Linked DNA regions of Homo sapiens: all the other regions are linked to region 1. Evidence: promoter capture Hi-C in 16 types of primary human blood cells and fetal thymus (Javierre and others, 2016). All regions are on one chromosome and are shown on one strand. Each heading gives the region's core, a stretch centred on a gene start or on the middle of the fragment in contact. The rest is flanking DNA. Distances are from core to core; before and after follow the strand shown.

Region 1 (5,736 bases), core at 1,746-4,245:
ATTCTTTTGAAACCACCTAACCCAACTGTCTCAATTTCTAAATAAAAATATTGATGATATGATGGACTCATTCAAAGTTAGGAAACCAGTTAGTGACAGAGCCTGAAAGAGAATCTTACTCTTATCCTAGGTGCTATTTCACACTTCATGATGCCTTGCAAAGATTAGATATACAAGAATACATAAGAATTTCCATTAAAAGTCACACTGGAAAAAGCAACATAAATCTTTGGGGAAACATAGTGTGAAATGACTGCACTCCACCAATTAGTCAGTATGTTAGCTAGCTACCTGGAAACCAGAGTCAAATTAAAAGGTGGATTATCCAGGCAGCACTCAAAGCATCCATCTCTAAGGGGTGCTAACAAGACAGCACCCTTGTGTGAATTAGAAAAATATCCTTTACCCAGGAAGGTGCAGTCCCTTGAGAATAAGACACCCCTTCCTCCAGGTGAATGTGCCAGCACCTGTCTGCAGTGTGGCAAGTGGAGAGTGAGATGGATTTCAGTCCCCACTTCGCCCCTTGGGTGGGCATCCTTGTGCATTTACCAGAAATCCTCTCTTGGAGACCATATGTGGGTGGGGGTTGCTTTGATAAGCAACTTGAGGTGGGGTAGAGACAGCCAAGCAGCAGTAAATGATCACTAGCCTGCCTTCTTCAGAGGGTGACTCTTCTTAACTGAGTGGGGCACAAAGTTTGAGGTCAGAGGAGAGGCTGAAGGCTGCCCTGGAAGTCCTTCTATGTCTCTGCTCACCCTCATTCTCCCAAAGGCCTAGGGTTCTGAATTAGAGCATGAGTTATCACAGTGTAAATTCTACAATTCCCCTGAAAACAGTCTACAGTGTCAGAGGTCAAAGAGTGCTCTGGTATTTATTCTGGAGGTGGCACTTCCATTCTGAGATAGTTCAAATACTTCCTTTCTCTGCATTGTCTATGGAAAAAGTTGACTTTGCAGTCAACTTATGAATATGAATCTTGTATTGTCTTAGCTGTGTGATGACTTTGAACTCATTCCCTTAAAGCTGCTGAGATTCTTTTTCCTCATCTGTAAAATGGTCTTTGCTATAAGGATTAAAGGAGACAACACATTGGCAAACAAAAGTGCAACTAACGTGGTCAATAGGAGGGGAAAGGGTGCTCTCCCATCTTCCCTCCCACTCCATCTCACTCCAGATGCAGACAACCTACTGCTGGGAGCCTCTTGCACTGTCTGTGCCACTACAAACCTTTACCTCTCAGGGCCCAGAGGAACTGGGCACCAGAACGGCTGACTGAAAGGGAAGAGAGGATGATACCTAGGTTTGATTTGTCCTTTGGGTACCACAATTCCCACATTTTCTTTAGGTCCTGCTAAATTGAAGTTTTCCCTGCAAATGGGTGCCCTGTAGACTCTAGAGTATCTCTACTTATTTATGAGTAGGAAGGCCGTCAGAGTGGTTAAGAATGAGCATTGGTATTGGAGAGACCTAGGTTGGAATCCTGGCTCTACTTTTTCACTTTTTGTGAAGTCCTGGGCAAAAGTCAGCCCGTTTTCCTTAACTATAAAATAGGGACATTAGTTCTAGATAGTTTCCTGATACACTGAAAAAAACACTCCATAAGCATTAATATTATCATTAGGGGGTCTGCTGGGTCAAGTGCTCCTGGGTTGCTCTTTAAAAAATCCCTCACAGTGGCAGAAGGAGGAGACAATGCCTGCCAGTCCCTGCGTCAGGTGACAGCCAGGGAAGGCACGAGGTGGGAACTGGAATTGGGACTTCTGGGCTGTAGTGGGCTATGCCCCCGTGTTTGCACAAAGTTTGTTATCAATAGCGTGAGTTCTCCCAGAATTGAGGATTCTCAGATTGCCCCAGGAGGGGGTATCTGGGATCAGATGCAGAAAATGATTATGACACATCACTATGAACAGAAATGGTGAACTAAGGGTGAGGCATGGAATTGGGACCATATCACAAAAGAGACGGAGGACACAAGTTTATAATAGTTACCATATCCACTTAGATTCCGGAGGTGAAGGACTTTCTGGTCACACCTATTCTTTCTTCCAGGACTTTTTGGAAGCCAGGGATAGAAAACACACTGGGCACACACTATACCCCTGATGGCTGGGGCTATAAAGTCTCTTCTGGGTGGTCCAGGAAGCAAGACCAGAACACATACCGCTGCTGGCCCGAGGATGATGACATGTAACTATTAAATTTTCATGGGTTTGAGGTCAAGTATCTTGTCTATTATCTTTTCTTCCCATAAACAGTAGGTGCTCAATAAACAAGCATGACAGCAGGAGAGGAAATGAGGAAAAGGCAGGATAAATAAAATACCCCTGATGAGTTCCAGGCCTCTTAATCTTGGTTCTTTCTCAATCGGTAAATATCAAATAAGGGCTCAACCGTAGTCCTGCCAACACCTCCAAAGCATCTCCATAGTCCGGATGCTAAACCACCCAGTGTCCACCAGGGGTCCTGGGATGAAGGGAGACGTGTTTCTTTCACGGTCATCATGATCGATTACTTCTTCCCTTCAAGTCCAGAGTCGCAGGCAGTGGACATAAGGCCACCTCCAGCCCTCTGCTTCCAAGGCTGGGGAGAGGCAAGGTCTCCCTTCGCCGCCGTAACCAGCCCGGGAACAGGAAGGCTGGGGAAGGTGGGGGACTCCATCAGCAAGGAAACCCTGGGGCTTCACTCTCCTACAGGCGGTCCTGCGAGCGCGGCCAAAGAGAGGCAGGGCGCTAGGGAAGGCGCGGGGACCCGGCCTCGGTGGAAGGACTTGTCCCCGGCGCAGAGGACGGGCGGGCGGCCGGGCGTGGGCGAGCGCGTAGCCGGCGTGCTCCTCCGTGCGCCCGGGCGGCGCGGGCGCGGCCGGCGATCCTGCAGAGGGAGCTGTGCGCCGGCCTTAGCGCACGCTCGGTGCCGCCCGCTCCCTCTTGCCGCCGCCGCCGCCGCTGGGCCCGCCCGCCGGGGAGGGGCTCCCGGCCTCGCAGACAGCGGCTTCCTGCTTTCTGCACGTCCTCGCCGCCGCGCCGCCAGTCCGTTTGTGCTAGCTCTGGCCGTGAGCCGGCCGCCCGCTGCCGCCGGCCGCCCCGCAGCTGCCTGCGCCCCAGCCGCGCCTCGCGGCCAGCCCGGCTAGCTCAGGTCCGCTCCCGGAGCCCGCGCCCCTCCACGCTGCCCCCTGCCTGTCCCCGGCCATGCTGTCCCTTCAGTACCCCGACGTGTACCGCGACGAGACCGCCGTAAGTATCTCTGCCTCCGCCCAGAGGGCTCCCGGGCAAAGGTGCCCAGCCTGCCTGACCCGTGGCACCCGCAGCTCCTCTTCCTGTAGGCCTTCGACCCCCGCGTCCCTCCCCTCCCCCTCGGCCTTTGTTTGGGAGAATTGGGCCGGGGGCGCGGGGCTCCTCTGCAGCGCTGGGGTCCCGCGGGCGGTCACTCTGCTAGTGCTGGCGGCGGAGCCTGTGGGCAGCGCCGCCCGGCCGCTTCCTAGAATCAATGGGGTCAAGGGCAGACGCCCGGGTAGAATGGGTGTCTTCAGGGAGTGGGAAGACAGACGGTGTCACTGCTTTTTTGACTGGCGAAGCCTCTTGCTTAAATATGGTGGTAGGAGAAAGTGTCCGCTGGGGTGTGTGTGTGTGTTTGTGTGTGTGTGTGTGTGTGTGTGTGTGTGATGTCACATTTAAAAACGAAAACAAACTTTTAAAACTTACACTTTAAAGTCCTTAGAGTTGAAGCATATTCGTTCGATTTTAAAAGGTGTGTTGAGCGCCTACCCTGTCCCAGGTCGGATGAGGCGCACTGGGCCCTGGGGATGCCAGAGACCCGGACAGAAATGGGGAAGGCGGAGCAGTGACCCCATAGTGTGGCCGTGCTGATCCATGTTTTCTTAAACAAGAAAAGGAGTTGAGAGAGGGTGAGAGGAGGTCTTAGAAGGGAGAGGGGTTGACCTTTTTCAGAATGAGTAAGTTTTGTCTAGTGGCGGAGTTGACCACCATTTGCCTAAGCTGCAGATGAACTCAAGGTAACTGTTGAGATCCAGTAGGCGGAATTCTGGGCAGACACCTTTTTTGTGTAAACGTGAATTTGACGACTTAGGAACTGGATTGCATCCACATGTTGTGGCCGTGATTCTCTTACTAATAGCTACATTTCTCAGATTACTTAAAATATAATCAGAATAAGTATGTATTTGTGTGATACAGTTTTAATGTTTTTCTGTTTACTTTCCCAATTTATGCCAGAAAGTGTTTACTTTAAAGCACGTGCTACATTGGGGTAAAGGGTGCTGACGCTTCGGAGTAAAGGACATACTGTTTTAAATTAAGACTTCCAAGTGACACTGATGCATTCATTCATGGTTTCTTTGACCAGTGGCCATCTGGTAACCATGTTTTCTCAGTCTGCTCAGCTGCTTGCTTATTAAATTTACCCTAACAGCTCAAGAAGCTCTATTCCTGTGGTTTAAAGGTTGTTTCCTTTGAATATGGGAGTAAAGTGATCCTGCTGGAATGGAGAAAGAGGCTGGACTAAATGAAAAGACCAGAGCGCTAGTTCTGGTTCTGTCATTCACTAGTTAGGTGACTTTTAGCAGCTCTTTTACCTGTTATGGGCCTTTTTTCTCATATGAGAAATATTTGGACTGACCATAGGGCTTACTTGCTTCTGCAGTAGGAATGTTGTCATTCATTCATTCATTCATGTGACAGTCTAGCTCTGCAGTGTTCCAGACTAGTAATGGGAAGCCAGGTGACTCTCTTGGTTCTGGTTCTTGAGGATCAGAATATAAAGAATTACCCATTCTGTGGTTTGATAAGTGCAGTTTTAAGTTTGTTTTTAGAGTTACTTGTTAGTTTTTCACCACTGTGGGTGCCTAAATCCTACAGTTTGTTTATTTATGTTTGATATTTCATGAAAGGTTTAAGTGAGGATTTTATGAAGACGTCTAAAAGATTATAAACAACTCGGAAGGGTATACTGTGGATTTTAATACACTCCAGTTCCTTCTCATTAAGCAACTCATGCTAACTCTAAGCCTCGTGGCCAAGGGAATGTAGCTCTGGCCCAGTCTGGATCTTGTTGTGTGGCTCCTTGATAGCTTACGGTGGAGTATCTTTTTTTTTGCATTAAGGTTTTGGTTACTAAGCCCTAGGCTTGACTTAGGTATTTGCTTAAATGGTAGCCTTTGATTTCTAGGATGGGTTTGTTTCTCCCCAGCATCAGCTGGGCATTGCGGTAGCTCTCTGTCTCTTTCACTTGAGCACCTTCAGCCATATGCTCAGTACTCTCCTGCTGAAAGCTTTGGAGCGTTGAGACCATTTTGGTGGAGTTCTGCCTTTTTGGGCAGAAATTTGGAAGCCATGACACTTCTTGTGCAATACCATCGACCATTGCTTAAGAGAGTTGCTATCAGGAAATTCAGGCCTGTCACAGGGGACTCACACTCTGATAGAAGAGGATTTAGGGTGAGAGGAGAACACAGAAGAGGATGGGACTAATTTCCATCAGGAGGGGGAGGCATTATGTGAATTGAGTCTGGAAGTTGACCAGTTGGGTAAGGGACAAAGGACATTCCTGATCCTGTGACTAAAGTAAAGCCATAGCTATGCAGGCCTGGATTGTTGTGGAATTGCATTTGTTTGTAGGGTGGCAAGAAGGCGATTCTGACCAGACCATCAACAGATGGATAAATTTGCATGGGGCTGGAAAGATGAGCAGGGCAGGTTTGATGGGTCCTGCCTGCTGTGTGTA
Region 2 (5,736 bases), core at 1,209-3,708, 460 kb after region 1:
TACATAGTAAGACACCATACAGTCTGACAAGGATTAATGAGAATATAATTATTGAATCATTTAGTTCCAGATCTATTGAGAAGCACCTATAAAGTTACCAAAAACCAATATGCATTACAACCCGATCCAATTCCTTAAATTTTTATGACCTTATATTGTAAAGCAAAGATTAGCTGATCCTACTTGTAAAATGGAAAAGTCAAATAAAACTTTTTTATTCATTGGTAGAAGAGGCCTTGTGTCAGTTTCATTTCTAAAGCTCTGTAGGAAATTAAGCACACTGGATTGCTGTGTTTCATACATGCAAAGATAAATAATTTGGCAGGCAAGAACCTTCCCTAAGATGGACAAGGGTGTAATTATTATTGAAAATGGAATACTGATTATTACATTCTCTTCTGTTAATTTATCATATGACTCCTCTATAAAATCTATGCAAATTCACAGCAGAAGAAAAAAAGGCATAAATTTCATAGCAAATTTATTTTTTCATACAAATTGGCATATATTTCCAAGAATTCACCCTTAACTTTCAAATCTTCCCTGAAAGCTTTCATAAAACTGTGATGTTTTATACTTATTGTTGGACGTAAAAATGTGCTTTTTAAAAAAGCACTTTTGCATTATCTAAGTAAATATGGTAATAACCAGCACCAAAAAAAGAAACATTAATATTTTCTTGATTAAAAATCACTTTAAGTCATATTTTCCCAGCAATGTTGTAAAACGTTTTAAATTCATTCTAATACTAGTTGTCAGGTGTAATTTTCACTTCCACAGTATTTGTGATCGATAAATAAAAAACTACAATAGAATAGGAGTATAATTTATTTTCCCCTTGCATTAACAATAATAGGTATAAAAATCTACAGTGGAGAATTTAGTTCCATGAACAGTGACACTTGGCAACCTTAAAAACCTACGGATGAAAACAAACCCACAAAGAACTGAAGGGAACTCAAGGAAACACAGGCACCTAAGATTTCATTCTGTGTTACATGAAACAATTCAAAATGGCGGACTTACTATTACTTACATTTAAGAAATTTCCGCAATAAGGGCACTAAATACATACTGTTAGATTTTACTCGAAAACACTCAATATTTACCAACGTGCAATTTTTAAAAAAAGTTTTTGGAGTACAAATCTTCACAAAGCACCCGCATCCAATGTTCCAGTCAGTAGTCAGTTAATGCTCCTGCAAACGTATCATTTCCTCTTTGGTTTTTCCTTTTCAAAAACAACCTAAATCCAAGTGCGTTCTTCCCCGTTCTTTTCAAAATCCTTAATTTTAATTCATGAATTTACATCACCGATACCAAAGCAAAAACGATCCCCGACGCCTGCCCGGTACAAAGCAGTTCGGCTTGCGGAGCGCGAAAGGGAGGTGCGCACGCCCTCTGGCGGCGCGGCCCCGTGCGTCCCAGACGAGCCGGCACCGGCCGCGAGGACCCGCCGCCGGGACCCCAGCCTGCGCCGCACCCTCGCGCCCTGCGCCCCCGCGTGGCCTGCGCCCCCGCCCTGCCCCGCCCCGCCCTCCCGCTCCAAGCCGGCTTTGGCCGCCCGGCAGCAACCGCAGCGGCGAGCCTGGGCGGCCGCTGTGGCAACGCAGTGCCCACACCGGGCGCCGACCCAGCAGCACCGAGCGGGGAGAGAAAGGTGTGAACCCGGAAGTACATCGACTGCCCGCGTCTTAGCGGCAGCACCGGGGCAATAAATCAGGGCCGGCGAAGGAAAGACGCGGCGCGCCGGCTTCCGAACCGCAACTTGCTGCGAGACCTGTCACTTCCCCGCGGTGCCCAGTCCTCGCCCCTCCCTGGCGCTCGCGCCTCCTCTTTTCTTCCTGCTCCTCAGCACGGAGCTCCCCTCGACGTTGCTCACGTGCCAGACTCGGGACCGCGAGCGGCGTCCGCACCCGCACGCACACCCGGCCACGCTCGCACTCGCGCGGCCGCGGGGCCGGCTGCTTACCTCCGGGGCCTCATGGTCGCGTCGCTAGCCTGGGTGTGAGAGGGGGAGAGGGTGTGAGGACGTGTGTGGCGTTCAGTCCCGAAGGACGGGGCGGAGGAAGGGGCCTGGAGTCTGTCACTTCCTGAGGGAGCGCGGAGGTCGAGAGACCTGTGAGGCGCGCGGCGGGGCCGGGAGGGTCAGCACATTGTGAGCCGGCAAGGGGACGCGGAACAGCCGGGCGGCGCGCGGCCACCGGGCACGGAATCCGCTGTCGCCACCACTCCGCCGCCGCAGCCCGGCGAGTGGCGGGGCGCGGGGAGGAGGGGGCTGAGCCGGGTGGGGGAGCGCGGGGCGCGGCGGCGGCACCAGGCGGTTCGACTGGAGCCCTGCGTCAGCCGGCGGCACGCGCACACCTGCCCGCCGCCGCTACCGGCCGCGTCATTGGCTGCCGGCGCCGAGCGCGCGAGATTGAACCTTCCATTCATTCCAGGGCCGGGCGGGCGAGCGCGGCCGCGGTGGAGCTTTACCGCGGGCGCCCCCGAACCCCCGAAGCGCGTCCCCGCGCAGGCCGTGGGCGCGCACGGCCGCTGCCGCCGTTTGTTCTGGTGGAGGCTGCGAGTGCCTGGGCCTGTGACTCCCGGCTCTCCGCGCGCAGCGTCAGTCTGGGAGGGAAGCTCACATGGCGGTCCCTAGGGTGCGACTGGAGGGAGGCGGGACGATGCTACTCCTTGCTCCCCAACCTGACACCTTGGTGCGGTAAAACTGTAAGAAGGTAACAAAATCATATCTGAAGCCCAGGTCTTCTTTTCTTTTACTACAGATGCCCTGGACATCATTCCGAACAGCACAATTCAAGGTAATAATAGTCATGTATTTCAGAATCCAGTGAGCATGGTAGACAATGCCAGAAGTTTGGGGAACCTACTGTCAGCTGTTTCTTTTCCTAAACAATAAGATACTCAACGTCAAATTGGATGATACAAACTTAATCATCATCACTCAAAGAGCCACAAGATCTGGGGCCAAAAATACTGTGATATATACACATATTTAGCTTGGTATTTTGGTATATGTTCCCAAAATATCACTGCTTTCTCTCCTATAATTTTCTACCTGATAATTTTATAGTTCTTTCTTATACTTTGGGTAGTTTCTCATCAGACTTTCAGAACTAAACAGTACTAGTCAATCATTATCTGACCAGCTAAAAAATCGAATATCGCCTTGTAATCTGGACTGTTCTGTGGAACTGACTAAAGGGATTAAATATTTCAGCAAACTAAAAATTTGTTCAAAAATTTAAAATATAGGAAATCAAATTAAAAGTGGAAAACTTTTCAAATGAAAACACTTTCATTTGAAAGTAACTAATAAAGGCCAGTTCACTGGCTACTATTGTATGACTAAAAGGCAAATCTCCAAACCGTTGCTGTGTGATGATACATTTCTCCCTTCCAATTTCTGGATTGGGATTAAGAAACCAATGTATCTATCAAGGGTAACCACAGTCTAGAAAAAAGCATCTCTGGCCTGGGAGTGAGATCAATGCAGACAAACTGATCAGAAGCAAAATCCTGTTGTGACCCCTCCTAAGAATTTTCCACATTGGCTACCACCTTCAGCAAATTCCCTGGATGGCTGCTCAACTTTCCATTGAGCTAGTGGAGTGAATACCACTTACTTTAAAGATGCCTTTTCACTGGCAAGTATGTAAAGTATTTCTTACATTACTTTGCGAAGTAGTACAGAGGATTCTTTCAGATACAATTCTTAGTTATAATCATTGTATCAATTTACACTATGATTTCAAATATAATTTAGAGGAAAAAGATGTGGACATTGATTACTAGAAATGAAAAACAGCAATTAATTATATCACCATCTGAAATGTGATATGCTTTGACTTTAAAGCATTATAGTAATTTTTTATTTATGAGTAGAGCTTACAAATGCACTTACAGAATGAACTGTTTTTTTTAATAGCTATGTTTCTAGGTATTTTGTAAGCCTTTCAGCATTTAAGTGTGATGTATATTTATGCAATACCTATTTAAAGTCCTGAGAAGAATTGTAAACAGAAAATAAAAAATTAAAACACAACCCAGGGTTAGTATCCCAGCACTCAAGAGTTCATCCTTTTTTTTGATTTCAAACTAGTTATCATCATGCCATCATGCTCCTGTGACACAAATAAAAAATGGGACATTATAATATTTAATGTATTATTTCATATAAGGTACCCGAAAGGGGCGATGATGAACATTGATAGGCTAAGCATTAAGGAGTATGTTAGCATGATTAGAAATGAATGAAAAGCCATAAGAACAAAGGAATTTATCATTTACGTATGGCTCTTGGCAATTTCTTTTTCTTTTCAGGTTTTTTTTTTTTTCTTGAGACAGGGTCTCACTATGTCCCCCAGGCTTGAGTGCAGTAGTGCAATCTTGGCTCACTGCAGCCTCCACCTTCTGGGTTCACGGGATTCTCGTGCCTCAGTCTCCTAAGTAGCTGGGATTACAGGCCTGCTCTACCACACGCAGCTAATTTTTGTATTTTTAGTAAAGATGGGGTTTCACCATGTTGCCCACGCTGGTCTCAAACTCCTGGCCTCAAGCAGTCTGCCCACCTGGCCCTTCAAAGTGCTGGGATTACAGGCGTGATCCACCATGCCTGACCTTGGCAATTTCCTTCTAAAAGTGAACCTTGGCAATTTCTTTATAAAAGTGAATCCCTCTACCTGGGACCATGGTCATAATTTATTTTACCTTATTTCCAACCTCCCCTTTTTTAGAGACTCGGTCTCACTCTGTTGCCAAGGCTGGTGTACAATAGTACCTTCCTAGCTACTGCAGCTTCGACCTCCTGGGCACAAGTGAGAATCCATCTTCAACCTCCTGAGTGGCTGGGACTACAAGCGCCTAATTTTTTTGTTTTTTTTGGTTTTTTTCTGCCTAATTTTTTTTTTTTTTTTTTTTTTTTTTTTGTAGAGACAGGTTCTTGCTCTGTTGCCCAGGCTATTCTCAGACTTCTGGTGGCAAGATATCCTTGCAGTCTTGGCCTCCCAAAGCACTGGGATTACAGGCATGAACCACCATGCTTGGCCTGCTTTACTTTTAGAATATATCTAATAATTATTCCCAAAGAGAACAGGCTCTTACTCTTAATATCTCCAATGCCTACAACGGTTCCTAGAATATGGTAGTGTGTAAGAAATGCTTTTTAATGAATGCATCTGAATGCACCCTGATTATATTTTCAAGGAAATACTTACCAAGACCTTTAGAAAACATAAAATACAGTGTTTCATATTTCTCTTGCCCTCTATTTTTTTATGAGTGGAGTGTATGAAAGCAAACCCCAGGCATCACGTCATTTTACTTACGAATTACAAGTATTGAGTGTTACAATGTTGAAAAACTAGGCTTTTATATTTATTATACTACATTAAAACAATTTGAAAAATAGAGTTGGCCAGGCGCGGTGGTTCACGCCTGTAATCCCAGCACTTTGGGAGGCCGAGGCGGGCAGATCACTTGAGCCCAGGAGTTGGAGACCAGACTGACCAGCATGGTGAAACCGTCTCTACAAAAAATCAGGCAGGCTTGGTGGCGGGCGCCTGTAGTCCCAGCTGCTGGTACTCAGCAGACAGCCGGGAGGCGGAGGTTGCAGCGAGCCGAGACTGCGGCCCTGCACCCCAGCCTGGGCAAAATGGTCACCGCGTCTCTACAAAATACTAGCTGGGCGTGGTGGCGCGCGCCCGCGGTTGCGGCTTTTGGGGAGGCTGA
Region 3 (5,736 bases), core at 1,250-3,749, 450 kb after region 1:
GATCCTTCCACATATAAACAGCCAATAATGATGGCCAGGCCTTCAGGAAAGGAAAACACACACCACACAGCAAGGTCAGGAAGCTACCAAGCACCACAGGACAACAGATCAAAACAGAATGGTTTCATATGTTTCTATTGTTTATATATTTAATTTGAAGATGATATTCCTTAGGGAAGGGGGTATAAATATTACTAGGAACATGCAACACAGTATCAAATATATACTTTTCAAGCAAATATACCAAATATTTCACCCATGTATCTGTCAGTCAATCTGTAGTATTAACAGCCTTTCATTCAATTCTTTTTAACTTAGATTATCATGCCAAAATAAACCTCTTTAGTCGTAAACCTCTTTATTTCTAACTACAGAAAATTTATATTTACCTTTTTTTGAGGAAACAACCGGCTTCCATAAAAGTATCTTTTTTACTATAAAGGGATTAAGCAGTAGAGAGGAGTAAAGGCAGAAGTATTAATTCATTATTTCCTGGGTAAAATTTTGAAAATGGGAAGCAATGAAATTCTGTTTGGTATTAAAACATCTTTAAAAATTACAACACAATACGAGCAAAGGTGGAAATTTACCCCAAGTAGCAGACCAGCACATTTTAAACACACAAGCAAGAGCCGCCTCTGGCCACATGTTTTTTTGAGTTCAGTCTCTTAAAGAGACAGTATACGTAGACCAATGACTACACGGAGCACATTTCTAAAATGTTTATCAAGCATCCCTCTATTGCACGCATTTCTTTACAACCACATTAGGCCAACAGTGTTCTATTTTATTTTACTATGAAGTCAAATTATTTTGATCTGAATCTACAAAATGATTACAGGACAGGCAGCGATGAAATAATAAAGGGAGCTACTGTGACTAGAGGTGTCTAAAATAAGGCAATCTATACATTTCTTTCCACAGCAAACTGTTTCGCTTTGTTTTTTCAACCTTAAAATGATCATGTTTCTTCATTTTTCTACCCATTCACCAGATACAGGCGACAAAGTATATTGTATAGGTAATACCGGAAACAACAAGAACACTATTTCGCTGTAGAATGAAGCAGGGGGAAATGCTAATAACGTCAACCTTAATATATATAGTGAAATTTCAAATATTTTCTTTTCTCTTTAGACAGAAAACCCAGGAAAAGGCCCATACACGTACCCTAAACGTTGGACTACCTAGTGATTTCAGGGAAGATTTTGTCTTTCAATATACCGAAGGACATCTTATCGTACGTCTATTGGCATAACTACCGATCAGCTCCTCCACATGGAAAAAGATGAAGAGGGGGACAAAAAAGTTTGGCTTACTTGGTGTACAAATACATCGACTGGAATATCCAAGGGGCTTCCCTCTCGGTTTATCATGGAGATGAATCCAAATCCCATGCGCACATTGAACCACTTACAGTGGCCAGTTCCGCGCAAAACCTGGGATTCCTCCTCTGCCGGCTCCGGCAGCTTCCCGGGCTCTTCTCCACCACCTTTGCTAGCCCCGCCTGAGAAGGAACAGGACAAAAAAGTCAGTCTGTATTCCCATTCAATGTGCATTCAAAGATTAAAAAAAAAAAATTGCCTGCCTGGGGTTGGGGGGGAAGGGTAACAGAAAAAAAAAATTTTTTTTAATGGTTTGATTTCTTTTCTCCACAGAAAATACTTAAAATGAAAAGGGTTAAAAGGAAAGCGGGGGAGGGGGAAGCCACACTGTTCTATCGATCACACCAACTTCCACGTTTCTATACATACGTGTACTTATTCATTTAACTCCATTTTTCAGCCACATTTTACATTACAGCATGCGATACTTTACTTGTATATTGCTGATTTAATACTGATCCCATTGACAAAGAGAAATTTTCAGCGAAACTATTCTCTCCGGCGGGCACGAGGAGGAAAGAGAAATCGTGAAGATGGTTTAGAGCTACTAGTTAAGGCACATGGGGCAGCACTGAATCCAGCGTTATTTGCAATGTGCATTCCCCTCCCCCCCATAACTTTCAATTAAAGTTGGGGTGGAATGGGGGAGGGGGCAGGTGTATAAAAGTTTTCTTGGAATCACTAACTGAAACTGCGCTTAATCACACTCACACAATTCAAACAATAGCCCCCTGAAAGCTTTTCAAGTTGTGAATCAGTGTGGGCGGTACAAAACATTTTTGGAGATCTATAACAATAGGTTTGCAGAAAGCCCCACTGCGTGATGGGGGGTTGGGAGGTAATGCCCAGTATTGGGGTAAAAGGGGAAGGGGGGGACGGTCTAAGAAGGGTGGGAGAGGGGGAGGGGGAGGAGAAAAGAAGAAAGAAATTCACAGTAAAACAATAGAAAAGAAAATTAACCTTCGGCCATGTTGCCCCACGGGCCCTCAGCTCCAAACTCGTGAGATGAAAACTTTCCCTTTGGAACGGAGTGATCTTCTGCATCAATCTAACATCTTGATTTTGTGCGATCACAAATTTAGCTCGCATGGTCTAATGTGCTTTCCTTCTTTTGATTTTTTTCTCTCCTCTCTCCAGTTTCTGGCCCCCTGAGCACACGTGACTTTGTCAATTACATGCTTTCTTGCTACTAATTTCACCTCGTATCCTTAAGGGGCTGGCAAGAGGAAGAGATAACCAATCGCCATTTCATCTATGCTGACATCAAAATAATTTATGAATGAACACGAAAAACTCAAACATGTTATCTTAAAGACAATTTGGAACGCTTCTTTAGGATAAATCAGAATGCTGATTTCGTGCTTCTACTTAAACACAATGGAGGGACCTTGTGAATCATAGATTTAGAAAAAAAGGCAGTCATATATGTGCACACGCGTGCCTTACACACAAGCCTGACTAAAATCATGGGAGGGGGTCGTTTAAATAAAACAACCGATGTTAACGCTTTTTTTCCCCTTAAGAATTCAGCTATTCCATGGCAGTAAACCTGCTTGGAACGCTAATTTCATATTTAATTCAATTCTTAGAGGAAAATATATAATTTATAAAAGATCTAATTAAACCTAATTACATCCCCATGAAACTTTAGATAATGAAAACATACACCTAGGAAAAGGCAGAGGCACATAAATTACCTGATTATGCCCGAAATTTTTTCAAATTTAAAATAAAATCCTACTAGAAAAATCGTTTTCACCTTCATATAGTCAAATTGTGTTTAGGTAAACCATTTTGGAAAATTTTAGAGGGGGTTGGTAAGGAATTGTACTTCACAGGTTTCTCTGCCATCTCTTTCCGGGGGAGGAGATGTGATTAATGACTTCCTAAATAACAGCCCAGTTTTCCAGCCTAACATAGAGTGAACCTCAATCAGTGGCGATTGTTCCCCAAGAGCTGGAGGACATAGGGCAGGAGGGGGAGGGGATCGCCAGGCAGGGGAGGTGAAGAGGAGCCGCCAGGATAGGCGGCAGCAGAGTCAAAGAAAGAGGTGGGAGAGAAAAAAAGCCGGCGCGGGCAGGGGGTGGGGTGGAGAAAGAAGGACAAGTGGGAGAAAAAAGGTAAATTCATATCATATTGACTTGTACCCTGACATTTTAAAAGTCCACTACCAATGGCTAGAAGAGTTGAATAAACGAAAATGTAACAACGGATGAAGCTCCTACTGTCCTTCCTCAACTGACCCCCAGTTTCAAAATGCCTACCCCCTTTACCTTTCAAACTGGTTCAAACGATTGATTACAAGATGCTGGCAACAGTATTTCTGCCCTTATCGAATACTATAATAAATATTATAGATTAACTAAAAAGACTTTATTTCCTTTAAAATATAAAATATCGCTATTTTAAAACCTTAAAATGCACCACCAGACTTGCCTACCCCACCCCCCATTTTCTTAAACAAGCAGTTTACCAAGAAACTAACTGTTCAGATACCACTTCCTTCGACAAAGCTACCGAGTTGACCCTCCCCCACCATGCCAGCAATCCCCCTCCCAGTCTCTTCAAACACATCCACACTCCAGCACTGTTTCACACAAGCTAAAATGTAGGGATTATGAATCGAAGAGCTATGGAAAAAGCTGTATACACCTATTTATACTCCCTCCCCATATTAAACAACTAAATATAAATTTAATTGGCTCAGATTGGAAAATGGATGTATAAAAAATAGAAGTTATTTTCAGCTGTTTTTGATAAAAGGTTTAATGAAAACTAATCAATTTGGAAAGATTTTTTTTTTTGTCTGTTATTCCTTTTGTTATTTCTCAGGAAAAAGGGCTACTTTCTCATTTTATTTATTTTGGGAGGAATAATCCTGTGCCAGCTGTTAGGGAGAAAAGAAAAGGTGCAAAAATCCAATGACTTTGAAAGTTTAACAAAAGCTCAAAGCTCTGAAAAAATTATTTACTAACAAAACATTTACTAGGCATTATTTTGATGGTAGAAATTACTTCTATTATACTGATTACACTGACAAGAAAGTAATCTCAATGATGGCATTACAGGCTAAGCTTGTGACATAATATGAAATCGAGAAAGTAATTTATATTTTTTCATATTTTAATAATCACTTTAAAAAATCAACATCTGGTATAAGAGGAAAAAAATCTCAGAAAGTATTCATGTAAATTGAGGTGAAATGCTATTACTTACATAAAAGTAATGATCACAAAATTCACAGGCCAGTATAGTTTAGCTTTGTAAAATATTCATTTAAGTTTGCTTTTAATTAGAAAACAGTTTAATCATTATAAAACCAGAAGCATAATAATGTAGGTAGATTCAGAATCTGTTTATTGTTAAATTTGATGAAATTCAAATTTATGAACATGTGGGTGAAAAGTGGAATACCATAACTGAACTACACTGTACAGTATAGTTATGAGATTCACAGTCTTGCCTGATTGGGGGCCTCCAGTATTAGTGGAATTAAGGTAAGGTTCACTGGAGTGGTCACTGGTGTCAGAGGTTATCGACTCATTCATTTCCTGAGAGGGACATCAGCCTTTCAAGTTGTGTAGAAGGCTTTTTCCAACTGGTAACCCTGAAAAATCCTCTAAAATTCGTTCATGAAGAATTTAAGACAAATGCATTTACATACCTTGGGGGAGGGTAAAAGAAAGGGGAAGAGAAGAGGCGAGGGAAGGGTAGAGGGAAAAGGAAGAAGAAAGCAAGGAAGTTGGAAAGGGAGAGAAGTAAAGGAAGGAGACACATTGAGAAACACAAAATAATCACTCACCAATTTAAGAATATGGCACTGTTTTTTCTGTGCCTTCCCCCAAAACTTTTGAGCCTAAAATCCTTTTATAATATAAATTGCCCATAAGCTTTTAAAGCTCCTAGAGTGCTTCTTTCACAGAAAGTCGTCCTATGAGTCTTCTAGAATGCTTTCCAATTTGTCACTTTCCTGAAGTCTTCTGGTTTTAATTTTTTTCTCATTTCCTACTTGGTTTTAGTGCCTGAAAGACCTGTGTTTGACTCAAAAGGGGTGTTTTATTCCTGCAAAAGCCAAATACTTTATAGCTTGACTTATAGTTCTTTCAAAATGTCTTTAAAATGAGTTCAAGTAGCTACAAAGAATCGTCAATGTACTGGGGGGAAAAAGCAAGGAAATAACCTACCATATGCCTGTTGGCTATCACAATCATCCCCATTTAAAAAACAAGGTACACGTTTTCCCAGACTTTTTTTCCAACAGTACAAGGAGCCGAAAGAGGTGCCAGAGCCCACCGTCGTTGTTTTCAATTATAAGGAATGAGTGACTTCTGTTAAAGCAGAAACAATGCTT
Region 4 (5,736 bases), core at 2,421-4,920, 300 kb after region 1:
TGAGAGAACGGTGTTCTTGTCCATGCCCTAAGCAGTGTCGAATCAATTCTACAAAAGTGATTTCCTTCAGGGGACATGCTACAAAGTAGAGTGATGACAGTCCCTTTTCCTAATGAGGTTTACTGGACCCTGAGGCCTGCCTGCGCTTGAGGAATGCTGGTGGTGCCCCACTGGGAGACCCGCCAGAAATTAAAGGTGATGTCCATGTCTTTTTCCCTCATCCTCAGGATCCTTTCTGAGGTTCCCTATGTGGCCTTTCAGAGGAGGGATTTTTTCATCACTGTGTACTTAAGGACATTATCAAGGTCCTGACTATGTGTGGAGTAATTCTGTGAGGCTGCAGGAGGAAAGAGGCCTTGGTTACAGCACTCAAGATGCCTGTTTTCTAATAAGGAAGAGATGCAAATGCTATAACCACAATGTTACACAGAATGTGGAAGGGCTGAAGTTATTGAGATGAAGAGGGTAGAATCTTCCCACAGGAGTCATGGAGGGTTACACATGAAGGAGGTGGAGTTTGAATCCTGCTTGAGGAAACAATGGGAATTTGGTGGTTAGAGATGGGAGTGGAGGAACCATTCCAAGTAGAGGGAAAAAAGGCAAGAGGAAAAGAGGAGGATGGGCTGGATTTGAAGAGCAGTGAGTTTGCAAGAGCTTGGACTGGAAGAGGGAGGGAGACCCAACTTGGAGAACCCTGGATGTCACCCTAAGGATTGTGAATCACTCTCATTATCCTTTTAATGTTATATAGTAAGTTCCATAGCTCTTCTTCTGCCCCAGCAAATATGGTGGGAGCAGAATAAATTCTTTCACAGAAAAGCTGAAAGCTCTTGGGAAGTTCTCACTTAACCATTTCCATTTGTGTTGAGTCCTCCCTTCATTTTCTCTCAGTGAAAAAAAATGCAAAGTATAGGTGAGAGAGTTGGGAGGGTCAGATACCATTGTGGCTCCAGAGTATAGATACCTGCCTCAATATAACTGTAGGATGTCCTTCCTGGTATGATAGATGAGCTTAAAAACTAGAAACCAGTTAGTCCTACTTCCTCAGACAGAATAAACTGGGTATGTTTCTGTTAAGCGTGTTACACAATTATGTCTATATACTATATATTATTGACTTGATTTAATGCTCTTAGACATGCCATCTTATTGTTTGTTCTGAGAGTTTTGTCTCATTGTAGATACTCAGCCTAAGTTAATATTTATGAGACCCAATGATAACTTAAGGCTAAAAATATGATGGAAACCAGGGCTTTTTTTTTTTTTTTTAAAGACAATTTTGCCACACTCAAGAGAGCTAAGATTGAGAAACACAAACCCACATTTGAGCACAAGGCCCATTTCCTTTATTGGCCATTCTTATGAGCAATGATGAATTTTAACAAATTTTCTCATTATTAAGTCCATAGCCTTCCAAAGACCATAGTAATTGATTTTTATGTTCTTACAAATATTTACAAAGTGGTTATTACATCCCAGGCACTGATCTAATAACTTTACAAATATCAAGTTGTTTTATCCTTATAACAACCATATGAAATAGGTGCTGTTCTTATTATTCCTATTTTACAGGTAAGGAAATTAAGGCACAAAGAAGTAACTTGTCCAAGGTCGCACAGATAGAATTCATTGCCATTTGAATAGACATTGAAGTAGAGGTTGTGTTTCGTGTGTTTGATGTCACCTGCATGGGAAAGGGGAAGAACTCGCCTGAGAACTTCCCATGCTGTGCCCTGTGCAGAATTGGGTTCTTGGACCATTTTATTAGATGCTTCTTTTCTACAGTTTATGTCAATAGTTGTCATTCAAGAGACTCAGTATTTTTGCTGTAAATGTCTGTAAGTGAACAATTTCCGTATATATACAGCGAGTATACATTAGCTGTACCACAGTCTAGCCCTGCATATTTTTTTATGTTAGAGGATGTGACTGGTGGTAGCATTTCCCCAGATGTACGGCAGTGACTGTACAGTTAATAAGAAATGACATTTAGTCACATGTTCTATAGGCCCAACACCCTGCTAAGTACATCCTATGCATTATTCTGTTTAATCCTCCTAACAATCCCATGGAGCAGATCCTAAGAATATCCCCTTTTTATAGATATGGAAACAGAGGCCTAGAAAGGTATAGTAATTGAGTGCAGGTTGCAGAGTAGGGATTTGAACTCTGGAACTGTTTGCTGAGCCTCTGGTCTTGACCACTCTGCATGCTCCCTCCCCCTGTGCCATACCAGGGGCCAGGAATGACCACTCGTTCATGGCTGAGTGCCAGGGCAAAGCCTTTGCCGCTGTCTCAGCCTCCCTCCAGGAGCAGCCGTGTGACATGCTCATAGCCCTTGGCCCTCCTTGCTGGTTGTGGCATTCTCCCTGTGCTGGCCAACCCAGCTGTCTGCTCCTGACTCCTGCCAGTGAATGACAGCTGATCTTGACAAACTTCTGTGGTCATCTTGTAGCAGATCTGCTTCATGTCTTAATAGATCCTCCACTCGCTTTTGCTGTGAGCATGTATTTAAAGAGCCAGGTTTCACCCGGTATCCCTCCACCATCAACCTTCTCCCCAGCTGAGTTCAGCATTTGTGGGCTGCCGGAATGCCACTCCACCCTGTGATTGGGTAGCGAAGATATGGGTGTGGGCAGAGCAGGTGGAAACCCGGACAACATGGATCCTGACAGTGATGGTGGTGACTGTAAGGAGGGGAGTTTATGCAGTCACGTTAGCTGCTCATTAGGCACCTTGAGAGGCCTTTTGATAATGACTTCTACTCTTACTTTTAGATAGTATTTTCTTCTACATCAAGCATGGTATCCATTATATGGTAGATGCTTGATAACCATTTGGTGAATGCATGAACCAGTGAGTGACTGAATGAATGAATTGCTGCCTGGTTCCTTTGATTAAATGGCATCCTAAAAGGCCCTGGGGTTGCCTTTTCTCCTGCTGCTGCCTGGGATTGCGTTTCCTCTACTTGGCTTGTCCCTCCTGAATGCCTGGCCTTTCTTCCTCTTCCCCTGTCTCCTTTGCGTGTAAGCCCAGTGGGTGGCTGGACTCCATGGTGGAGGCAAGAAATGTTTTAGGTGATATTACAGATGGTGATTAGGTTCCATAATTTTGGAATAGAAGTATTCTTTGGGGAAATTAGGAGTTAAATCAACTTTCAAGGGCTAATATGAGACTCAAGCCCCCATGTATGATATTAATGTAGGAACATGCGTTCTGAGTCCTAAGCAGACTGTGGGGCAAACCCCTGGGAACTGAATATATTTGAGAAGCTCAGATCATCCAAGCACATGCGGTGGAATCTGTCCCTCATCTGTGCTCCTGACTGAGAGTCTCTTCTTGACTTGGTTATTTTATTGAGATGCTGGATTGAAATAGAATGGTTTATGGAAATTGTGTTCTTGGTGCTGCTAGTGATAGATTCCTACAGTTTTATTTTCCAGTTGGAATTTATAATTGATATATCACACCAGGGTCTGGGTAGATTGTGCATTCAGTGGTTTTCCCTCCTGTATCTTTCCACAGATGTGTCATCCCCACACCAGCGAGCCTCTGCCAAGATGAAACCGATAGAAGAAGGAGCAGAAGATGATGATGACGTTTTTGAACCGGCATCTCCAAATACATTGAAAGTCCATCAGCTGCCTTGATCAGAGAGAGAATTCAGGTTACCAAGACGGAAGGTGTCTTGAAGAGATCCTGAAAAATACCAGCACTTTTTCATGGCTTTTAGGTTATTCTGCTTTAGTGCATCCAGACTGGTGGAGTCGGAGGGAGGAAGTGAGGAAGGGTCAAGGATGGAAGAGTTCTTTCACTTACCCTTTTTATTAGTCAGCTTTTAAAGTAATTGTTTTACTGAGCCTTCTGACTATGCCTTGTTCTCTTTTGAGATATATATTTTCACAGTCTTTTCTAGATATATTATTGTTTTAACTTAACAAATCTTAGCAATCTCTCAATGCCTTTTCACTTATTTTTTTCCAAGTTATGATTCTTTTTCCTCACAGTCTTTTTTGTTCCATAGCAATGAGGTTGTCCATTTGATAATTTTAACAAACAATGTAAGTTTAAAATTGAGGCTAAGGTAACATGAAAAAGCAGGGAATCTCAAACTTTATTCCATATATACACACACACACACACACACACACACACACATACATACATACATATATATATATATATACATATATATACATACACACATACATATAATTTTTTTTTTTTTTGAGATGGAGTTTCACTCTGTCGCCCAGGCTGGAGTGTAGTGGCACATTCTCAGCTCACTGCAAACTCCACCTCCTGGATTCACGCCACTCTCCTGCCTCAGCCTCCCGAGTAGCTGGGACTACAGGCACCTGCCACCGCGCCCAGCTAATTTTTTTGTATTTTTAGTAGAGATGGGGTTTCACTGTGTTAGCCAGGATGGTCTCGATCTCCTGACCTCGTGATCCGCCCACCTTGGCCTCCCAGAGTGCTGGGATTACAGGCGTGAGCCACCGCGCCCGGCCTATTCCATATTTTTTTAATGGGACATTTTAGAGAAAGGTGTGATTTGACTGGTTTTATTTTTCTCCCAGGCCAGAAGTATTACTCCACTAGATCACCTTACTTAATTGGGCACTGTGTGGATAACTTGATAATGAACAAAACTCTCAGATTTTACTCACATTACCCTTGTATTATGCCATTTATAAACTGCTCTGAAACCTGAAGCTGGAAAGATAACAGATGGGTTTCTGAGCACGGGGTTAACCTCCAGCTAAACTCAACTTCCTTGGGATTTGGAGTCACCATGTTGTGCACACTCTGGTGTGGGAAACACTTTATGTAGGGTGGGAGGACAGGGGAGTTAAATGGCTGGGCAGGTGCCACAGGATGAGGCCACTGAAAGATCTGCTTCATTCTTTGATCTGTATTCTGAAGTTCCAGATTGTTCATCTAGAGGCAGAGACATCTCTTTTAAAAAAGTGCCAGATGCCCCAGTGCCAGAGCTGCGAACGTGAACACAGTGGAAGGCAGAGGGTTTACTACAGGCCAGGCCATGGACACCCCACCCAGGTACTGCAGTGAGGGCCTTGATTCCAGAGCTCTTTTTCCTACTGAAATCATGGTTTAGTAAACAGTGGCATTTGGCTGGTGGGAAATGCGTAACTGGTCAGTGTGTCTGGCCAGCGTGGCTGTGGCACTTGGCCAGGACGCTCCGTTGAATGAAGCTCATTGATTGGCCATGCTGGTCATGTCTATTTTGCTTCATCCACTAGAACCAACTTTGAGTCAGTCTCCTGTTACGTTAAATGGCTAAGAAAAGTTCCAAATGAAGTTGTTCTCAGGTGAACTGAGCCAAAAGAAGCAACTCTTACCATGAGGTGATTTCTGTTAGAGGAGACATATAAATAAGCTCATCTAGGGTCACCTCATTTTCCTAAATATGTTTTTAAAGCAATTATTGTAGTAATTTCATTTGAGTTAAATTTACATGCTCGGTCACTCATTGAGAAAATTTACACAGACTCTGAATCCAGTTCCTGTCATCTTCAGATGTTGGTTTATTGACATCACAGTAAAAAGGCTACTGTCGACTGGACACAGTGGCTCACACATGTAATCACAGCACTTTGGGGGGCCAAGGTGGGTGGATTGCTTAAGCCCAGGAGTTCAAGACCAGCCTGGGCAACATGGCTAAACCCCATCTCTACAAAAAAAATTAGCTGGGTGTGGTGGTACATACCTGTA
Region 5 (5,736 bases), core at 1,759-4,258, 290 kb after region 1:
GTAAAATGACCTCAGTCAGCACTCTAACTACTGGCTTCCAACCAAATCCATGTTTTTTTTTTTTTTTTTTTTTTTTTTTTTTTTTTTTTTTTTTTTTGAGACGGAGTCTCGCTCTGTCGCCAGGCTGGAGTGCAGTGGCGGGATCTCGGCTCACTGCAAGCTCCGCCTCCCGGGTTCACGCCATTCTTCCGCCTCAGCCTCCCAAGTAGCTGGGACTACAGGCGCCCGCCACTACGCCCGGCTAATTTTTTGTATTTTTAGTAGAGACGGGGTTTCACCGTTTTAGCCGGGATGGTCTCGATCTCCTGACCTCGTGATCCGCCCGCCTCGGCCTCCCAAAGTGCTGGGATTACAGGCGTGAGCCACCGCGCCCGGCCCAAATCCATGTTTTTATGGGCCTGTAAGTTACTCATATGAACTAAGTACGGCTTATTATTTGAATACTATTATTTTATATTCAATAATAACTTAAACAGGTCGAAAGTAATTTTTTAACCATCAATAAAAAGTGAATTTGCTAAGGAAATTACAGTGTCATTGTAAAAGTTTCATTGCCTCAGTGGAAACTTGAGGTAATTCAGATGGCTGAAGAAAAGTTAACAGCCTTATGTATCATCTAAATATAATTTCTTCATCTCATAGATGATTTCCATCTCCTCTTTTAACTCCTTCACCCACTCTTTTCCAGAGTCCTGGGTGACATCTTTGCACAACGAAGGAACATCAGTCCTAACTGTCTTTAGCACTTAGGTGCATGGCTGGGCCCTCATGAGGACACCATGCTCACTTTTCTGTTATTACTCCAGGAATATTTTTCAGTTGCCTTCCATTTATGCACCCACCTCATACCGTCTGTGGGAATTCCCCAGGGTCAGTTTGCTTATACTCCTCTTCCTGTAAATCTTGCCATGTTTTTGATCCTACTTCTTTATTAGCAGCCTCCTCCACTAGAATGTAGGCTTCATGGCATGTGTTCAGCCTTTCTCTGTATGAGGGGCTCTTGATGGACTGCACAGCCAACCTTGTAGTCACTAGGCAGAAATACTTTCTATGAAATGGTATTGATGAGTATTGGGTGTATTGGGTAGATTTTGACCTGGTGGGAAAATAGATTTGGGCTGAAAGTCAAAAGTGCTCACTTTACCACTACTTTTTTTTTTTTTTTTTTTTGAGAGGGAGTCTCACTCTGTTACCCAGGCTAGAGTGCAGCGGCACGATCTCGGCTCACTGCAACCTCTGCCTCCCAGGTTCAAGGGATTCTTGTGCCTCAGCCTCCTGAATAGCTGGGATTACAGGCGCCTGCCACCATACCCAGCTAATTTTTTTTCTTTTAGTAGAGACAGGGTTTCACCATGTTGGCCCAGGCTGGTCTCGAGCTCCTGGCCTGAAGTGATCGGCCCATCTTAGCCTCCCAAGTAGCTGGGACTGTAGGCACATGCCAGTATGCCCGGCTAATTTTTGTGTGTTTTGTAGAGCCACTCTACCACTAATTAATATGTGTTTGTGAGTTTTTTGGTCCTTCTCATTTGGCATCTGAAAAATGGGGAAGAATATTACTTGTCTTATTTTAAACGGATTTTTGAGGATCCACTTACATGATAGATATGAAAGCACCTTAAAGTTTAAAAGTACATATACAAAGTGAGTGGCATTATGTGCTATTGTCACCCCCAGTCATTCTCGACCACTTTCCCCTGTTCTATAGTTGTCAAAACACTTACTGCCACCTGAAATTGTCATATTTCTTTATTAATTATCATCCTTCTCCACTAGAATGTAAGCTTCATGGGGCAAGCATCTTGTCTTTCTTATTTACCATTGTAACTTCATACCTTGAAGAGTATCTAGCATAAAGTACATGCATAGTAATGTATCGAAAGAATGAATGAAATTTAGTGTTTCATCAAGTCTTAGATGCTGATGCATTTCTTAAAAACAAATACGTTTGGTTTTGGAAATTCCTACTTTTGATATAATAAATAAACACAAGCTTTTTTTCCTAGGAATGTTGACACCACTTTTTAAAGTAGCCAGACATTCTTAATTTGCCAGCAATCAGATTTCAGCTTGTTGAAGTAAGGAGACAAGCTGGGTTTTTCATTTTCTGTCTTGGTAGATGTACATATCCCCTTGTCCTCTGAAATGTGTTTACTTTTGTGACAAAGGGGACAGAGCTTCTTTAGAAACATTTGCTCTGAGGCTCAGATAGGACTGGATGTCAGTTTAATGGACATTGGTTTTTGCCTACTGCGGTATTTGTGTTCATTTGTTTTGTTTTTGTTTTTGAGATGAGGTCTCGCGCTTGTCACCCAGGGGTCTCCTGCTGCCACTGTATGATCGAGTGTAGTGGTGTGATCATGGCTCGCTGCAACCTCGACCTTCCTGGGCTCAGGTGATCCTCCCACCTCAGCCTCCCAAGTAGCTGGGACTACAGGCACATGCCACCATGTCCATCTAATTTGTGTATGTTTTATAGAGCCAGGGTTTTGCCATGTTGTGTGTTCATTTGCTTAAGTCCTTCATACAACAGTCATGCATTAAGCACCACTCCATGTTGGAAGTCAGGCATTCAGACAGACGTGAAGATACACAATCCCTGCCTTCACAGTGCTTGGAACAGGCAGATGTGTCAGCTGATGAGCTTGGATTTAATGATAGGATTTAAGCCATAATGAAGCTTGCAGTTGTGTTAACTGATGGAAGTGTTAACATGGGAAGAAGGGCTTCCTGGCACTGAATGGTGAGGGCATGGCCCCTCACTCTGGCAAAGGGATTTATTTGAGGGATACTTGAGCTCTGTTTCGTGCAGTTATAGTACCTTTCTGCTTTCCTACATACAATACTGAAGGAAAGGGGGTATGATTTCCAGCTCTGAGCTAATTTGGGGATGTCTGTGAATATCTCTAATGGGCTACCCTGGATCTAACCTTGAAATGTGACACTCGAGAAACACCTATGACAGAAGGACCCTCACCAGCCGTATTCATCAGCAACAGCCGAGGGCCCTTGAAGTTTTCTCAGTCTTTAGTGTATATTTGCAGAGATGGATGGGCAGAAGGTCTTTCACAACTTGCCTCATGAATCTTAGTTCATCTGCTTGAAGCTGTATTTTTGAACTTCATTGTAATGTACAGGGTGTAAAGAAATATTTCATGTAAGTCATATGTCCAGTGGCATCCTCAGTTGAATACATGCTCCAGCAGCGGTATCAATACAGTGGCCATTCTTCTGTCACCAGACCTCACAAAACAAAACAACAAGGAAACACAGAGAATTTGCTTTTATTTAGTCTGCAGATTGCTTTTTTAAAAAACATAATTTTATACGTGTAGAAGCTTGTGTGCATTGAGTCTCCTTTTTTTTATAATTTGACAAATCATTGCTATGATAATGTCCACTAAATCATTCCTAGTTTTCTAAATCACTATAGTCATAATTCATATACATAGATGTACTTTATTCTTTGCATGCTTGTTTCTTTGGCAGGTCACCATTATTGCAGATGATAACTGCAGATTTTTATGCTGGTCAAGAGAAAGATTAACATACTTTCTGGAATCAGAACCTTTCTTGTATGAAATCTTTAGGTATCTTATTGGAAAAGACATCACAAATAAGCTCTACTCATTGAATGATCCCACCTTAAATGATAAAGTAAGTGTTCTCTGAGTTTATTTTGTTAAATAAATATGTATATGAGGTATATTTCACTTTATGAAATATGTTTTCCTGAATTTTTAGTAACTAGCCATATGTTAAATGTACTGGGGATACTTGTAATCTTGAGAGGAGAAAGTATTTTGTAATGATTAGATTTGCTGTTACTTAGTAAGGAGTCTACAATTGTCAGGGACTAGCATTTATGGTGATAAGGCACCCTCTTCATCAAGAGCATTTTAAGGAAGATGGTAAAGGAGTAAGAGGGGGTGGAGGATGGAGTAAGTTAGGGAGGACAGGGCAGCTGGAGGTTTGCAGACAGAGAAAGGCTGACAGACCCCAGCGATCAGGAAGTTGGCCTTTGAACCCTGCTGTCTTCCAGTCTTGCATATCTTCAGGTCAGGCGAGAAAGTGAAAGGAGAGGTGTAGAGCTGCATAGATCTTCAGCAATTTGCAATTTGATCTTAATTTTCCCGTATCTTTTTAGAAAGAAATTAAAATGATTACAAGAGAGAATTTTTAAAAACGTCGTTTCTGTGATAAGTACTGTTACCCAGTGACAATTGAGTATATGTGCCCTTTCAAAATCATCTTATCTGGACTGTTTATCAAATTAAGCTGGTGCTTATTTCAGTTAATTATTTAGCTTATTATAAATAGGCTACTAAGTATATTTGATTTTGTATAATATATTTATAGTAATAGCTAATAATAAAAATCATAGCTTATGTTTATTGGCCACCTAATATGTATCAGGTATTCTTTTTTTTAAATGCACTAACGTATTTCTAGGAAAAGTACATGCTGCTTAAATGGAATGTATGATTCAACTCCCATAATTCTCAGAAAGCTTAAAACTTTGCTTTGTAGAAAGCCAAAAAGCTGGAACATCAGCTCAGCCTCTGCACACAGATCTCCATGTTGGAAATGAGGAACAGTATAGCCAGCTCCAGTGACAGTGACGACGGCTTGCACCAGTTTCTTCGGGGTACCTCCAGCATGTCCTCTCTTCGTAAGTTATCCCAAAACTGATACTACTCCAGAGTTCTGATGGGTATCTCTGGACATAGACAAATGACAACTTTGATTAGAAAAATAACTTTGCAGGTAACTATTTGAAAGGCAACCTAAAGGTAACAATAAAAACAATCAAATTTTGTTTAGCATTTCCCCCATATTGCATATGAGCTAAAAGCCAACTTTAGAACTATTATTTCTGTTTCAGAAATTGAAATTGTTCACTGGTTTTGCCATATACTTTGCTTAAATAGTGGCTCACTGGCTGGGCATGGTGGCTTACGCCTGTAATCCCAGCACTTTGGGAGGCTGAGGCGGGCAGATCAGCACTTTGGGAGGCTGAGGCGGGCGGATCACGAGGTCAGGAGATCAAGACCATCCTGACTAATACGGTGAAACCCCGTCTCTACTAAAAATACAAAAAAAATTAGCCGGGCTTGGTGGCAGGCGCCTGTAGTCCTGGCTACTCGGGAGGCTGAGGCAGGAGAATGGCGTGAACCTGGGAGGCGGAGCTTGCAGTGAGTTGAGATCACGCCACTGCACTCCAGCCTGGGCGACAGAGCGAGACTCCGTCTCAAAAATAAAAAATAGTGGCTCACCAGAATACTCTAAGAGTCCACATGGTTTGATTTTTTTGCTTTGGTTTTGTTTGTTTTTGTTGCCATTTGGCTTTGTTACTTTCATGACTTTAGTTAGAGTGAAAGCCTAGACCCAGAAATGTTTTACTAAATGGTAGACAAATAAATGCTGGGTGTTCTGCTGCTGGCTGGTTATCTCAGTATGAGTGCCGTGAGTTAAAAAGTGACTGAGAAATGGATTATTCCCAAAGATGAAGGAGATCACTCAACACCCTTGTGAGCTACCTCATTCACACGCCTGCCAAGAGGCACATTTTCCGGTATTCTTCCATAGTTTAGATTGTTTCAAAACATTTTAAGTAACACAAATAACCCAGATGTTGAAAATTAGTAAGTAAAATGAGAAAAACTAAATTAAGAATTAAATACTTTAAGAATTATTCTAAGAATGATGGTATAAAAACTTTGAACAAATTCATATGAA

What was found. Contacts are between HindIII fragments. The CHiCAGO score rates a contact against its expected background, and 5 or more counts as called.
Region 2: the fragment with the promoter of LIN28B-AS1 here is called in contact with the fragment with the promoter of PREP in region 1 in 4 of 17 cell types (fetal thymus, erythroblasts, megakaryocytes and 1 more); the score reaches 13.9 in fetal thymus.
Region 3: a contact is called between the fragment with the promoter of LIN28B here and the fragment with the promoter of PREP in region 1, in 1 of 17 cell types (fetal thymus). The highest score is 5.9, in fetal thymus.
Region 4: a contact is called between a fragment that was not itself captured here and the fragment with the promoter of PREP in region 1, in 5 of 17 cell types (megakaryocytes, endothelial precursors, total B cells and 2 more). The highest score is 11.2, in megakaryocytes.
Region 5: a fragment that was not itself captured here is called in contact with the fragment with the promoter of PREP in region 1 in 1 of 17 cell types (endothelial precursors); the score reaches 5.4 in endothelial precursors.

What each region holds. Positions count from the first base shown.
Region 1 is chr6:105,400,341-105,406,076 of GRCh38, reverse strand. It overlaps PREP (prolyl endopeptidase), which reads left to right and starts at 2,995. Exons shown (of 15, transcript NM_002726.5): 1 at 2,995-3,230. The coding sequence starts at 3,186. RefSeq lists a silencer at 2,718-3,287. The HindIII fragment of the contact is 7,847 bases long and covers 1-5,286 here.
Region 2 is chr6:104,937,249-104,942,984 of GRCh38, reverse strand. LIN28B-AS1 (LIN28B antisense RNA 1) reads left to right here and starts at 2,458. Exons shown (of 3, transcript NR_046407.1): 1 at 2,458-2,607; 2 at 2,772-2,807. It also overlaps a transcript of LIN28B not described here. RefSeq lists enhancers at 1,402-2,236, 5,155-5,655, 5,656-5,736. The HindIII fragment of the contact is 11,740 bases long and covers 553-5,736 here.
Region 3 is chr6:104,953,870-104,959,605 of GRCh38, reverse strand. It overlaps LIN28B (lin-28 RNA binding posttranscriptional regulator B), which reads right to left and starts at 2,499. Exons shown (of 4, transcript NM_001004317.4): 1 at 2,346-2,499; 2 at 1,320-1,507. The coding sequence starts at 2,355. RefSeq lists enhancers at 1,611-2,548, 2,549-3,486. The HindIII fragment of the contact is 2,336 bases long and covers 2,126-4,461 here.
Region 4 is chr6:105,099,003-105,104,738 of GRCh38, reverse strand. It overlaps POPDC1 (popeye domain cAMP effector 1), which reads left to right. Exons shown (of 8, transcript NM_001199563.2): 8 at 3,526-5,736. The coding sequence ends at 3,650. Among named protein-coding and RNA genes, the nearest start is that of POPDC1, 35 kb to the left of the region's middle. The HindIII fragment of the contact is 8,172 bases long and covers 1-5,736 here.
Region 5 is chr6:105,114,619-105,120,354 of GRCh38, reverse strand. It overlaps POPDC1 (popeye domain cAMP effector 1), which reads left to right. Exons shown (of 8, transcript NM_001199563.2): 6 at 3,487-3,654; 7 at 4,528-4,669. Among named protein-coding and RNA genes, the nearest start is that of POPDC1, 20 kb to the left of the region's middle. The HindIII fragment of the contact is 658 bases long and covers 2,680-3,337 here.